Regions from separate parts of the Homo sapiens genome. Here all the other regions are linked to region 1. The links are contacts of gene promoters, found by promoter capture Hi-C in blood cells and fetal thymus (Javierre and others, 2016). All regions are on one chromosome and are shown on one strand. Each heading gives the region's core, a stretch centred on a gene start or on the middle of the fragment in contact. The rest is flanking DNA. Distances are from core to core; before and after follow the strand shown.

Evidence for each region. Contacts are between HindIII fragments. The CHiCAGO score rates a contact against its expected background, and 5 or more counts as called.
Region 2: a contact is called between the fragment with the promoter of EDDM3A here and the fragment with the promoter of METTL17 in region 1, in 2 of 17 cell types (M2 macrophages and monocytes). The highest score is 9.8, in M2 macrophages.
Region 3: a contact is called between the fragment with the promoter of EDDM3B here and the fragment with the promoter of METTL17 in region 1, in 6 of 17 cell types (monocytes, M2 macrophages, neutrophils and 3 more). The highest score is 8.0, in monocytes.
Region 4: a contact is called between a fragment that was not itself captured here and the fragment with the promoter of METTL17 in region 1, in 2 of 17 cell types (M1 macrophages and monocytes). The highest score is 6.9, in M1 macrophages.
Region 5: a contact is called between a fragment that was not itself captured here and the fragment with the promoter of METTL17 in region 1, in 2 of 17 cell types (M0 macrophages and monocytes). The highest score is 7.0, in M0 macrophages.

The regions. Positions count from the first base shown.
Region 1 is chr14:20,988,515-20,991,396 of GRCh38, reverse strand. It overlaps METTL17 (methyltransferase like 17), which reads right to left and starts at 1,417. Exons shown (of 14, transcript NM_022734.3): 1 at 1,320-1,417; 2 at 1,014-1,167; 3 at 799-933. The coding sequence starts at 1,394. RefSeq lists an enhancer at 841-890 and a silencer at 1,641-1,770. The HindIII fragment of the contact is 15,587 bases long and covers 1-2,882 here.
Region 2 is chr14:20,744,400-20,747,281 of GRCh38, reverse strand. EDDM3A (epididymal protein 3A) reads right to left here and starts at 1,395. Exons shown (of 2, transcript NM_006683.5): 1 at 1,290-1,395. All of the region lies in intron 2 of LOC107984671 (a long non-coding RNA gene), which reads left to right. The HindIII fragment of the contact is 4,056 bases long and covers 1-2,882 here.
Region 3 is chr14:20,766,925-20,769,806 of GRCh38, reverse strand. It overlaps EDDM3B (epididymal protein 3B), which reads right to left and starts at 1,403. Exons shown (of 2, transcript NM_022360.5): 1 at 1,301-1,403. The region is part of intron 1 of LOC107984671 (a long non-coding RNA gene); the gene reads left to right. RefSeq lists an enhancer at 1,416-1,695. The HindIII fragment of the contact is 10,803 bases long and covers 1-2,882 here.
Region 4 is chr14:20,785,873-20,788,754 of GRCh38, reverse strand. The region is part of intron 1 of LOC107984671 (a long non-coding RNA gene); the gene reads left to right. Among named protein-coding and RNA genes, the nearest start is that of RNASE6, 6.0 kb to the right of the region's middle. The HindIII fragment of the contact is 4,946 bases long and covers 1-2,882 here.
Region 5 is chr14:20,821,312-20,824,193 of GRCh38, reverse strand. No RefSeq gene overlaps it. Among named protein-coding and RNA genes, the nearest start is that of RNASE1, 20 kb to the right of the region's middle. RefSeq lists an enhancer at 2,170-2,464. The HindIII fragment of the contact is 1,018 bases long and covers 909-1,926 here.

The DNA.
Region 1 (2,882 bases), core at 168-2,667:
ACTATTTAGCAAGTATCTACTGAACTACTGTGAGCCAGGTACTGTGAGGTGTGCAGGGAATGCAAGATGAATAAATGGTAGTGTCAAGGAGCTCACAATCATGAAACTAACTTGATGAATTATATTTACCCTCTTATCCCAGAAGAGGGTTTCAGTACTGGGCAGGGACCATCCAGGGACTTTATTTTACCTGAATAAAAACTTAGAAGGTCCTAATCCAGTGGACTTGCAGAAAAAAATAAATATCTAGATTTTAACAGTATATTGGTAGCCAGGCGCGGTGGTTCATGCCTGTAATCCTAGCACTTTGGGAGGCCAAGGTGGGCGGATCACCTGAGGTCAGAAGTTCGAGACTAGCCTGGCCACCATGATGAAACCCCGTCTCTACTAAAAATACAAGTAGCCGGGTGTGGTGGTGCACGCCTGTAATCCCAGCTACTGAAGAGGCTGAGGCAGGAAAATCACTTAAACCCGGGAGGCGGAGGTTGCAGTGAGCCGAGATCGAGCATTACACTTCAGCCTGGGTGACAGAGCAAGACTCTGTCTCAAAGCAAAAACAAAACAACAAAACAAACAAACAAACAAAAAACAGTATACTGGGACATTCTGACCTTTACCTAAGCAATCTCTAAAATAATCTACCTTCTTTTAGTAAGGCATCATTGTAACAACTGCTGCTCTGGTTAGAAAGTCAAATAAGAGACTTCAGTATCTGAGAGATTGTAGAATTATTTCTTACTCTTCATTTCTAACCGATATTTCAATCTCGCCCACTTTTTAATTATTCTTAAGTCCTACCTGGGTTTTCCAGGAATTTTTTCTCAAGATGCCTAGCCCGTCTTTGCAACTCCTCTGGCTCTACAGGCAAATGTCTGCTCCAGAGATAACTGGTCAGTGTTTGCACCTGATTCTCCATAGTGGGCCCAGCGCTCCCTATGGGCCAAAGACGAAAAGCGGAATCACTTGCATGTAGGTCCAGTCCCGTTTCTTCTCGCTTTCCCGCCGTTACTCACCAAGTAGCAATAACTGGGCACCGTTAGCCAGTGCCTGTGGCAGCCGCACGTGCGGCAGCTTTAGGATGCCAGGGTGCTGGCGATGAGGCCTCTTCTGCAGGAAACCGGACTTGTTATCTACCTGGGTCACTCCGGGTACTAAGGCGGCGAGCGCCTGCAGGCAGAGAAAGGTAGGTTGATTTCCTGGCAGAAAGGAAAGTTGCTGGCAATCGCTAGGGCGGGGGCTGCCAGGAGCGCTCCTCCTCTGCGCGGAGATGTCTCTGCAGATCCAGAGTCTCTCCGACAGCAGGGAATGTAGGCACTCACCCGGGCCTGGGGAGCCACTCCAAGGCCGGGGCACCATCTTCCTAATGTCAGTAGACACTTCAGTGCCGCCGCCATGGCTCCGGAGGCGAACCGGAAACGGAAATACAGGTGCCTGTGACCCTCAGTCCCAACGCCGCAAGGAGCAGCCTTCGCAGAACTTCTCCCGACAGTTTCAGCCAACGAGAAGAGCGAGTGTTTGCCAGCAGCCAATAAGCAATGGTTATATAAATAATCCTTGAGGCAGAAACCGTGTTTGGGCCGACTTGAAGGCTGCGTTGGGCCTGGTCACCGGCCCCAGAAATCAAGAGGGTGGGGTGGGGCGGGGCGGGACGGGACGGGGGCGGGATGGGGTTGGGTGTGAGCGCGCCAGCAAAGACTGTTTCTGGGAGTACTGACTTCCTGTGTTCTTTGCATTCCTCCGCGGAGAACTCTGAGTCTTGGGTTGTTTCCCTGTGTGAAAAAGGGAGACTGCAGTAACGGAAAGAAGAGAAAAATCAGATTTAAGCGACTGAAGAAAACAGAAATTAATAGTTAAATGATTATTGAATAGTTAATAGTTTGATAAATATTAAACCTAGTTAATAGGTTTATTTATTTTTTTACATTTGTTAATTTCTCTTCAAATGAGACCAGTCTTCTTAGTAAGCTAACATAACACTTACTGAGAACACCTATGTGCTAGGTACTTCAGGGAAAAGGACTGATCCCCACTTCACAGAAAACATGGTTCTGACGGGGACCCTCCTGTGTCTGCTGCTACGTCAGAGTGTTTCCCCCAGGCCCAGGACTTAGACAGTAGCCGTCTGATTACCTGAGGTGCAGAATCTCAGGTGGGTCCAGCCACTATTGTGACGTGATAATATAGCATAGGGGAATGGTCTCCAGAGTCTGCAAGCTCATCAACACCTTCATTCACTAGAGCATCAGAAGGATAAATGGCATATGCAAGGCGATATCTACTTTCGGGACCTGACAGTGGACAACTGCTACCTCAGTCTCCGAACACTTGAGCTCACCCAGTGTGTGATTTCTGTGGGCTCCTGGCCCCCTAATTTCCGTTACAGGTTTAGGATGTTCTCCCAGCACATCCACTTGACCTGTGTGTGGAACCAGCCAGTTCATCTGGAGGGCTAGACTCCTGAGTCATCAGGCTAGGGCCTGATGATCTCAGGCCCCAGCGCCCTAATTGGACTTTCCTTCTGTGGTTCTCTACCTTATTCGACTTCTTCCCCAAATCTGCAGACCTCACCGACTGCAGCCTGCCAGCTCTCTCAGGGCTCCTCATCTCGGGGTGAGGTGGGGTGAGGAGACATGGGTGGACAGGGGGAGAAGGGCCGCTCTGCCTCTTCCAGGCGGAACCGCCCTTCCTGTAGATGAATGCATGGCCCACTGACACATCCTAGGCTGACACTTGCCTCTTTTCCAGCTTTTCCTCAGTCCTCCTTTTACCTGGGAATCTTTCCTGGGTGCTCAAAAGGGTCACCACAGTGACCTCTACCCCTCCAGTGAGAATGCTCACGTTCAGAGTCGTGATTCTGTGTGTGCCCTGGGCTGAGGACTCTG
Region 2 (2,882 bases), core at 146-2,645, 240 kb after region 1:
TCTACTAAAATACAAAAAGTAGCTGGACATGGTGGCTGTAGACCCAGCTACTCGAGAGGCTGAGGCAGGAGAATCGCTTGAACCTGGGAGGCGGAGGTTGCGGTGAGCCGACATCACACCTCTGCACTCCGGCCTGGGTGACAAAAGCAAAACTCCGTCTCAAAAAAAAAAAAAAAAAAGAATACAGTTTCTAAGAACTAAAAATATGCTTTAGCCTGTGAGAGCTAACACAAATTTGGAAAATATAGATAAAGTACCTTTTGAGAATTTCAAATATCTCCTGTCTACCCTGTCTTCTACCCAATTTGAGGAGCCAATCACTATCGAGCTCTCTTTTACCAAATAAGCTCTCAGGAGATCATGTGTCCAATAGAAAAATGACATTTTAAGCGTATTGTCTGCAAAGTGGAAAAGATTGTTGCATTTTAAGGGAATGTAGAAGATGAGTAACTACTTGGGAGGTGGTTCCTAGGCAGAAGGCATTGATTCTGGAAACCACAGCCCAGGCTGCAATTGCACTTCTCTGAAAAATGATGTTTTTCCAACCTTGACTTCCTTATAACACTTTCCCCAAAGTCTGGGTGAAACATGTGATCATTATTAACTATCGGCATCCCTTCTCAGAGGCCATTTCCCTAATTACTGCTATTACAAATGATCTTCATTTGTTAGAGCTTATTGACAATGCCATCATAAAAGGACATCAGTTTAGAACTGTTGCTGTAATCAATCAGGCACCAAAACTAAAACAGTCCCCCGCAGAGCTACTGTGGTCACAGCATAGGATGTATGGTCGTTTGAAAAAGTTATCTCTTTACCAGCTATCTGTCCTCATTTGCCATGAGGAGTATTCCTGGCCCTACTGAACCTCTAGCCTGATTCATAGCTCTGAGTATCGGTGTCCTCAGATAGGCCTAATCACAGCTCCCTACAGACCTGCAAGAGTCTAATGAGATGCAAGCATGTGAGAGCACTTCTAAAGATGTCAAATGCCCACATCAGGCACAGGGTTCCTCATCTGTGGAACCCTGTCCTGGTGATAAAGGCCTACACAAGATAGAAGAGTAGGATGCAAGCAGCTTTAATGCACTGTGCTTAGGAGGACTGGCGGTGAAGGAAGGGAGGGGCAGGGAAAAGCCTGTATCAGTGGGACTGAGGCTAACCAGAATTCAGACCTTTGTTTTCCATGATTTGGATCCTTCTCCATTGTTTGCTATCTAAAAGTTCAATCAGCCTCCTTCCAGTGTTCCTGGCTGTCCCCCGAGCAACCTCAGCAGAGCCCTTCTTACCCTACTTGGACTCTGAGTTCAGGTCACTGATTGTAGTGGGGATCAGCATGTGGATCTGAAGAGCAGAGTCTGCGTCCTCCTCCTTTTCTCAGAGCCCTGGAAATCTACAGCAGTGGAGAAAGGAATAGTAGGGGGAGCTGCAGGGCTCCAGCTGATTGGTAGCCGAGGTGGTGATGGGGAACAGCCTTATTATGTGAACTTGTCCCTGTATCGTTTCATCTGGAACACTTGGGCTCACTCAAACAGTAGCCTCGAGCAAAGGCTACAAACATCAAAGGCTGAGCCCTGGGTACAAAATGATTGCAAGACCCTAGGTGACCCCAGAAAAGGGTTATCTGGTGCTATCAGGAGACAACCAGAGACTTAGCTCTGCTCTCAATTCTAACAAACTTCTGGGGAAGTCCCTGGAGGGTTATGCTATGTTACATGGGAACTTCACTGAGGAAAGCCACCTTTTTTTTTTTTTTGAGATGGAGTCTCGCTCTGTTGCCCAGGCTGGAGTGCAGTGGCGAGATCTCGGCTCACTGCAAGCTCCGCCTCCCGGGTTCACCCCATTCTCTTGCCTCAACCTCCTGAGTAGCTGGGACTATAGGCGCCTGTCACCACGCCCAGCTAATTTTTTGTATTTTTAGTAGAGACGGGGTTTCACCGTGTTAGCCAGGATGGTCTCGATCTCCTGACCTCATGATCTGCCTGCCTCAGCCTCCCAAAGTGCTGGGATTACAGGTGTGACTCGCTGTGCCTGGTCTTTTGCCTTTTTTTTTTTTTTGACAGGGTCTTGCTCTGTCGCCCAGGCTGGAGTGCAGTCGCACAAACACTGCTCCCTGCAGTCTCAACCTGCCAGGCTCAAGCAATCCTCCCACCTCAGCCTCTTGAGTAGCTGGGACTATAGGCATGCAACACCATGCCTGGCTAGTTTTTTGTATTAATTTTTGTAGAGACAGGGTTTCACCATGTTGGCCAGGTTGGTCTTGAACTCCTGAGCCTAGCTAAGCCTCAACACATCAGCCTCTAAAAGTGCTGGGATTACAGGCATGAGCCACTTGGTCAGGCCAGAAAATCACTTTTAATGTTGTGAATTGTGAGACCTTCATTGAGAGGTGAAAGAATATCTAGTGAACACAGTGGCCAAATAGCTATGAATGATTAGGTAGCCAGTATCTGAAATTTCTCTACTCAGTTTTTTAATTATAACCTTTAGCTGTTTGGTGACACTGTACTGCTTACTATTAAAATGTCACATAGCCTGGCCATAGTTTCTACAATGCTACTATACGTAACATCTGACTGTGAAGTATAGGTCACAAGGTGCTGGCTAAGTTGTTTTTCAGGACCTCAAGATTCAGTCCTGAACTCAGCTCAAACTGACAAGACCACAACTTCTTCAACTGAGTTTGTGCAAGTGTTCAATGGTTACCTTTAACATCACAGCCGGAATTTTCCACCATATTTTCCATGCCAACTCCCCACAAATTGGCAAATGTGACCAATACTGGTTCATCAACACTAGTCAAAGTTACGATTTATGAATAAAGTAAGACTCTTGCAAATCTTTTCTAACAACACTTCCAAAGGCTGCTCCTAGCCAAACCA
Region 3 (2,882 bases), core at 154-2,653, 220 kb after region 1:
TCTCAGGAGATCATGTGTCCAAAAGAGAATGATATTTTAAGGTTTATGTCCTTGAAGTGGAAAGGGTTGTCAGATTTTAGGGAAATGTAGAAAATGAGTAACTACTTGGGAAGTGGTTCCTAGGTAGGAAGGCTTCGATTCGCTAAAATGACAGCCTAGCCTGCAATTACTTCTTGCCTGCTTCTCCAATTACTTAATGATGCTTCTCCAATCTTGACTTCCTTATAACACTTTCTCCAAAGCCTGAGTGGAACGTATGTTCATTACTAACTACCCATATTCCTTCTCAGGGGTCATTCCCCTAATTATCACTATTACAAATGATCTTGGTTTGTCAGAGCTGCTCCTTGAAAATGTCATCATAAAATAACTCCAGTTTTGAGGTTTTTATTTGTTTATTTATTTTTGAGACAGAGTCTCACTGTGTCACCCAGGCTGGAGTGCAGTGGCACAGTCTTGGCTCACTGCAACCTTCACCTCCAGGGTTCAATAGATTCTCTGTCTCAGCCTCCCACGTAGCTGAGATTATAGGTGCCTGCCACCACACACAGCTAATTTTTGTATTTTTTTTAGTAGAGACAATGTTTCGCCATGTTGGCCAGGCTAGTATCAAAATCCTGGCCTCAAGTAATCTACCCACCTCGGTTTCCCAAAGTGCTGGGATTCTCAGGCATGAGCCACTACACCCAACCAGAATTCCAGATTTGAAATATTCCTGTAATCAATCAAGCACCAAGACTAAAAGAGCCCCCACAGTGGCTTCTGTGGTGATAGCATGGAGTGTGGGGATCTTTTTGAAAGAGTCTACCGTTTAAACTAGTGCTCTGTCCTCATTTACCATGAGAAGTGTTCCCGCCCTTACTGAATCTCTAACCTGATTCACAACTCTGAGCATTGGTGTCCTCAGATGGACTTAATAATAGCTCCCTACAGACCTGCAAGTGTCTAATGAGACGCATGTATTTGAGAGCACTTCTAATGATGTCAAATGTCCACATCAGACACAGAACAAAGGGTCGGTACTTCCTATCTGTGGAACCCTGTCCTGATGATAAAGACCTACAGAGGATAGAAGAGCAGGATGTAAGCGGTTTTAATGCATTGTGTTTGAGAAGACTGGGGGTGAAGGAAGGGAGGGGCAGGGAAAGCCTGTATCAGTGGGACTGAGGCTGACCAGAATTCACACCTTTGTTTTCCATGATTTGGATCCTTCTCCATTGTTTGCTATCTAAAAGTTCAATCAGCCTCCTTTCAGTGCTCCTGGCTGTCCCCCAAACATCCTCAGCAGAGCCCTTCTTACCCTACTCAGACTCCAAGTTCAGGTCACTGGTTGTAGTTGGGATCAGTGTGTGGATCTGAAGAGCAGAGTCTGAGTCCTCCTTTCCTCAGGGCCCTGGAAATCTGCAGCAGTGGAGAAAGGAATAGCAGGGGGAGCTGCAAGGCTCCAGCTGATTGGTAGTGGAGGTGGTGATGGGGAATAGCCTTATTATGTGAACTTGTTCCTGTATCTTCTCATCTGGAACACTTGAGTTTATTCAGACAGTGGCCTCAAGCAAAGGCTACAAACATCAAAGGCTGACTCCAGGGCACAGAAGAAGTGCAAGACCCTAGAGTGAGGTGACCCCAGAAAGGGGTTATCTGGTGCTATCAGTAGACAACGAGAGACCTGGCTTCTGCACTCAATTTCTGACAAAGTTCTGGGAAGTCCCTGGAGGGTTATGCTATGTTACACAGAAACTTCTCTGAAGAAAGCCACTTATAACATTGTGAACTGTGGGACTTTCGTTGAGAGGTGAAAGAGTATCTAGTGAAACTGGTGGCCAGATAGTTATGATTAGGTAGCCAGTATCTGAAGTTTTACTAGGCAGTTTGTTATTGTCGATGAAACGAGTCAGCTGGGTGTGGTGGCTCACGCCTGTAATCCCAGCACTTTGGGAGGCCAAGGCGGGAGGATCACCTGAGGTCAGGAGTTCAAGACCTACCTGGCCGAGGTGGTGAAACCCCATCTCTACTAAAAATACAAAAATTAGCTGGGCGTGGTGGTGGGCACCTGTAATCCCAGCTACTTGGGAGGCCGAGGCAGGTGAATCGCTTGAACCTGGGAGGCAGAGGTTGCAGTGAGCCGAGATCACGCCATTGCACTCCAGCCTGGGCAACAGGAGCAAAACACCATTTCAAAACAAAAGAAAAGAAAAAAAAAAGAGTCAAACTCTGTAAAATATTTGAAGAGATTTATTCTGAGCCAAATATGAGTGACCATGGCCTATGACACAGCTCTCAGGAGGTCCTGAGGACATGTGCCCAAGGTGGTTGGAGCACAGCTGGTTTTATACATTTTAGAGAGGCATGAAACATCAATCAAATACATTTAAGAAATACATTGGTTTGGTCCAGCAAGGCGGGACAACTCAAAGCTGATGGGGAGTGGAGGGCCTCCAGGCCATAGGTGTATTTAAACATTTTCTGGTTGACAACTAGTTTTGTCTAAAGACCTGAGATTGATAGAAAGGGAATATTCAGGTTAAAATAAAGATGGTAGAGACCAATTCTTTCGAAGTCTTATAGTGGCTGCCCTTAGAGACAATAGATGACAAATGTTTCCCTTTCAGATCTTAATTAATATCTTTAGGATTGGAAGGTCTGGAAGAAAAATATTTAGCTATGTTAATAGAGATTCTTTACAGATGCAAATTTTCCCCCACAAAGAACAGCTTTGCAGGGCAATTTCAAAATGTGGCAAAGAAACATGTTTTGGGGCAAAATACTTTTTCTTGTTTGTCTGGTAATGTTATGCCAGAGTCAGGTTGGAAAGTAAAACATGATATACAGGGTTAAATAAAACTCATCTGATGAGAATTGATGATTTGTAGGGCATGACTCCC
Region 4 (2,882 bases), core at 195-2,694, 200 kb after region 1:
GAGCCTATTTTAGACAGAGGGGAGCCAATGTTACAATGTAAAAAGAACATGTAGAATGGGATGTGTTGGCATGGACATTTTGTTTTTGTTTTTGAGACAGAATCTTGCTCTATCACCCAGGTTGGAGTGCAGTGGTGCAATCTCGGCTCACTGCAGCCTCCACCTCCCAGGTTCAAGTGATTCTCCTGCCTCAGCCTCCCAAGTAGCAGGGACTACAGGTGTGTGCCAACATGCCCGGTAAATTTTTGTATTTTTAGTAGAGATGGGGTTTCACCATGTTAGCCATGGTCTCAAACTCCTGACCTCAAGTGATCCGCCCACCTCAGCCTCCCAAAGTGCTGGAATTACAGGTGTGAGCCACTGTGCCTGGCTGTGTGGACATTTTGGAAAATACAATTGGCCACAACTAGTTTGAAGAAAATATGGCAATATTTGGTAAAATTGGACATGAATATGGCTTAGCAATTCCACATCTGGGCATATATTAGTGAAAATTTACCACATGTGCACACGGAGAAATGTACAAAGATACTCATTGCAACATTGCTTGTTAGAGTGAAAATTTGGAAACATCCTAAATATCCACCAGAAGACAGATAAATAAATGGTGGTATACTAATACAGAGGGGAAAATAATGAATCAATAAAAATAAAGGAACAACAAATACACATTTTAATATTGATGAGTCTTGGAAACACTGTTGGGTGAAAAAAACTAGTTGCAGAATGATACGTACCTTATGATAGTATTTATACAAATGTATTAAAATTGCACACTGAAACACTATATTTTGCTTATGAATGTATTATACTTAAAGAGTACAAAAAAAGGACTGAATATACCCCAAATGTATGATTTCATCTGAGAAGAGTTTTTTTTTGTTTTATTGTTTTTTTTTTTTTGCGACGGAGTCTCGTTCTGTCGCCCAGGCTGGAGTGCAGTGGCGCGATCTCGGCTCACTGCAAGCTCCGCCTCCCGGGTTCACGCCATTCTCCTGCCTCAGCCTCCCGAGTAGCTGGGAATACAGGCGCCCGCCATCACACCTGGCTTATTTTTTGTATTTTTAGTAGAGACGGGGTTTCACCGTGTTAGCCAGGATGGTCTCGATCTCCTGACCTCATGATCTACCCGCCTCGGCCTCCCAAAGTGCTGGGATTACAGGCGTGAGCCACCGCGCCCGGCTGAGAAGAGTTAAGAAGAATTACCAGAAAGGAATAAAATGGACCCCAATGTTTTTATATTTTATTTATTTTAAAATTTTAAGCAAATGAAACACTTAATATTTATTTCTTTTGCATGCCACTAGTATATTGTATTTATCTGGATTGTTTAATTTTTGAAAAGTAAATAATCCCATTAAAAATGAAGTGAACTCATGAGAGAGAGCAAGGGAAAAACTTGACGAAATCCATCAAGTATGAAGAGCCCCCAAAGACTTCCCATCCCCACGAGCTTCTGCTTCTCCTCCTTGCGAAGCTCTTTGGCTCTGCTATTGCCACCCCTACACCTGGGTTTTTGTGGGGTTTTTTGCAATCTTGACTCAAATGTGGACAAACACTTTCTTGTTTTTATTAGCACTGTCTAGATAAAATGGCATTTTCAAAAATAACTTTACAAATTAAAAAGATGACTTGAAGAAATATTCACAGTATCAAAAGAATCAATAAAATCAGTTTTAGATTGTATAATTTCTTTTCAGACGAAATTAATTAAAATATCCACCTAACTCACTAAGTACAGCTGTAAAAGTGGTTTAATGTTTTTACTGGTCCCACATCCTCCTGTCTTAAAATAAACTTTCCTCTATTCCTCAAGAGTACATTGTTATTCAATTTCTGTTTCCACACTGTGTGGTTAAAGAAAAAGTATTGAATTGTCTATCTAGCCCCTTTTCTCTGGGAACTATGACATCTCTAACCAGGGCTAACTCACCTGGAACCAGTCCTGGCCCCAAGACAACACTACAGACATGAGTCCTGAAGCTCCTTAGGGCTTCCTGTGCTGGAAGGAAGGGTTGAGGGTGGGAGAAAGCCCCAAAGGAGAGAAAGAGAATAGGATCCCATGCGGATCTCAGGCCAGGCACTACCAGCCTGGGCTGACTGCAGCCACTGATGAGAGACTTAGAAAATGTTGAGAAGGGTATTCCAAGATGCAACGGGGTGCCTGAGGAACAGGCGAGGCCAGAGACCCCATTTGGCCAGCCTTAAGGGCAGTTCTCTCTAAGCCTCTCTTCTGCATGGTCCACAAGAAAGGCTCCTGGAAGCTATTTTTTGCAATGTGATTCTGTCCGATGGTCATGTCTGATCTATGGATGGGATCAGTCAGAATCCCTTCAAAAATAAATAATATTTCAGAGAAAATTAGAAAGTGAGATGGAAAGGGATGACTGTCTACTTACTGTGTGAAAAAGAAAAGCAGAGGAAATGAGTACATTGCAGAAAAAGACTGAAACAGGGCACAGAAAGGAATATTAAGAATTCATTACGGTCGGGCGCGGTGGCTCACTCCTGGAATCCCAGCACTTTGGAAGGTCGAGGCGGGCGGATCACGAGGTCAGGAGATCGAGACGATCCTGGCCAACATGGTGAAACCCGGTCCCTACTAAAAATACAAAAAATTAGCCGGGCGTGGTGGCGGGCGCCTGTAGTCCCAGCTACTGGGGAGGCTGAGGCAGGAGAATGGCGGGAACCCGGGAGGCGGAGCTTGCAGTGAGCCCAGATCGCGCCACTGCACTCCAGCCTGGGCGACAGAGCGAGACTCCGTCTCAAAAAAAAAAAAAAAAAAAAAAAAAAAAAAAAAAATCATTACTTTCCTGAGGCCCCAGTTCAAAATTCTCAGCCTGCCAGGTGTCGTCCTTCCTACTGAATTCCAGCCACCTGCC
Region 5 (2,882 bases), core at 168-2,667, 170 kb after region 1:
CTAAGTTCACTTAGTGTCTCTCATGACAGGGAGGAAACTTAGCGTTCCTTGGAGACCTGAAGGGATGCAGTGAGTTTAAGACTTTCCAAGAGCTTACAAATCAGTCAGCCTTTGTTCATCCCTTAGCGGATGTGTGGTGGTATTGTGGACCTTTACCGGAAGCTCTGCCAAATAACTGGAGTGGCACTTGTGCTTTAGTACAATTGGCTATCCTTTTCACCCTGGCATTTCATCAATCGGAGGAAGGAAAAATAAGACATTGTAAAGCAAGAGAAGCCACTTACGGGTCTTTCGACTCACATCTATTTAAATGCAATTGGAATCCCATGGGGAATACCAGATCAATTTAAAACCTGAAATCAAAGAGCTGCAGGATTTGAGTCAATATTTTGGTGGGGGACAATTAATAAAAATGTAGATTGGATAAACTACATCTACTACAACCAACAGCAATTTATTAACTACACTAGAGTTGCTGTTAAAGGAATAGCTGAGCAATTAGAGGCTACTAGCCAGATGGCTTGGGAAAATAGGATAGCCTTAGACATATTAGCAGAATGAAGAGGAATTTGCATCATGATTAAAACTCAATGTTGTACCTTCATCCCAAACAACACCGCCCCTGATGGAAGTACAACAAAGGCATTGCAAGGTCTGACTGCTGTGTCCAATGAGTTAGCCAACAACTCAGGGGTAAATGACCCCTTTATAGGAGGGCTAGAAAAGTGGTTCAGTAAATGGAAAAGGATAATAGCCTCAATTCTTACTTCCCTCACAGCCGTAATGGGTGTACTTATTCTTGTCGGGTGCTGTGTCACACCATGCATCCATGGGTTGGTGCAGAGGCTCATAAAAATGGCACTCACTAAAACCTCCCTTAACTATCCTCCACCTTATCCAGAGAAGCTTCTTCCTTTGGAAAATCAAGCAAAACAACTAAGCCGAGACATGTTAAAGAATTTTGAAGAGAAAAAACTGTAAGGAAATATAAGAGGAGGGGTTGTTAGATATGAGTTCTAAATTTCTCTTCAAAGAATCAGTATGTCAGTATGTTCGTATGTTCAATTCTTTGCCTTCTACTTTTAACTTCCTCGTAAAGCAACCTTTTTCGATTACCTGCTCCACCCTGACTCATTCCAATTACCTGCTCCACCCTGACTCATTCCGATTACTTCCTCTGCCATAACCATTTTCCCCACCAAACCACTCACCCTGTCACTCTCTTTAAATTAGCCAGTCGGAATTAGTTTAGCCTGTGCGTTCTAACCCTAGCCAATAGAGGAACGACACAGCAGCAGGGGCCACATGCGTCAGGGATAAGAACCCCTTTCCCTCCCTTGTCCAAGTGTGTGCTCACCATTGCTCCATCTGTAAGGGTGCACCCTTCTATAGAAGTACATTGCCTTGCTGAGAATTAAAAAGAACATTTTATATTCGAGTGCTATTTCTTTTGTGGCACCAAAACTTTATTTATAACTAGGGGTTTCACCATGTTGGCCAGGCTGGTCTCAAACTCCTGACCTCAAGTGTTCTGCCCGCCTTGGCCTCCCAAAGTGCCGGGATTACACACGTAAGCCACTGTACCTGGCTGGCATTGGTAGTTTTTAAGAGCTTCCAAAAAGATTTATCGAAAAGTCTCATCAAGTTATAAGTAGCAGAGCTGGGGAAAAAACACACTTTTTTTCCCTGACCTTTTATATTACCTGAGCTATATTTATTACACCACTTCTCTGTTTTTGAAAATTCACCTTTCTACAGTAGCAGTCATTAATTGTTGCCTTTTTATTGGAGAGCTAGGCTTCTCATTTATTCTTTTTCAGATGATATTGTACACATCATGACACCTTTCTGAAACCACCTTTGCAAAATTATGACCGAGACAGTGAAACAGATCTAACCTAACTAACTCTATCTTGCTTTTAAGCTTTAAGCTGTCCTTGTTCATTCCCGGGGTAGGCTGAACTAACTTTGGGAGAAACTTGCTTTATGGTTTGTAGTTTAAAACAAAGACAATAACAACCCTTTCCTAAAGCAGACCTCCTTCTTGCCTGGGGACTAGATTCACTTTGTAGGACTAACATTAGCCACAATATTAGAAATTATGGTTTAGGAGTCATGCAGCTGGAGGCTACAAGATTCTGACCCTCCCTAAACTCCTCCTAAGATCAGTGCTTGAGATATTTTGCTGACCCTGCACTTGATGGATCAGCTGGCACCACCCAGATTGATAAACTGGCTCATCTGATCTTGTGTCCCCCACCCAGGAACTGACTCAGTGCAAGAGGACAGCTTCAGTTCCCTATGGTCTTGTTTCCTAACTGACCAGTCAGCACTCCTGGCTCACTGGCTTCCCCCCACCCACCAAGTTGTCAGTAAAAACTCTGCTTCCCTGAATGCTTGGGGAGACTGATTTGAGTAATAATAAAACTCCGGTCTCCCACACAGCCGGCTCTGTGTGAATTACTCTTCCTCCATTGCAATTCCCCTGTCTTGATAAACTGGCTCTGTCTAGGCTGTGGGCAAGGTGAAACCACTGGGTAGTTACATTCCTCCTTCATGAAAAACACATTCCATTTCTTCCACAACCACCTTTTGATTCTGCACCATGTCTAATATTTTTTGTATAGTATTTTCTTTGTTTCTAGTCAGTTAATCTTCTGTGACTCCGTAGCCTTCTACAATGAGACATTAATTTACTTGACATGTATTAATTGGAGACCAACTGTATACATGGCACATGATCAGGAGATATGTGTGAATAAAACACCCTTTCTGTTCTTGAAAACAGTGTAATTTGGGAGACTGAGAAGAAAGAATTCCCACTGAATGTGAGACATGGTATAATAAAGTGTGAAATGCTGTGGAATCACAGATAAAAGAGC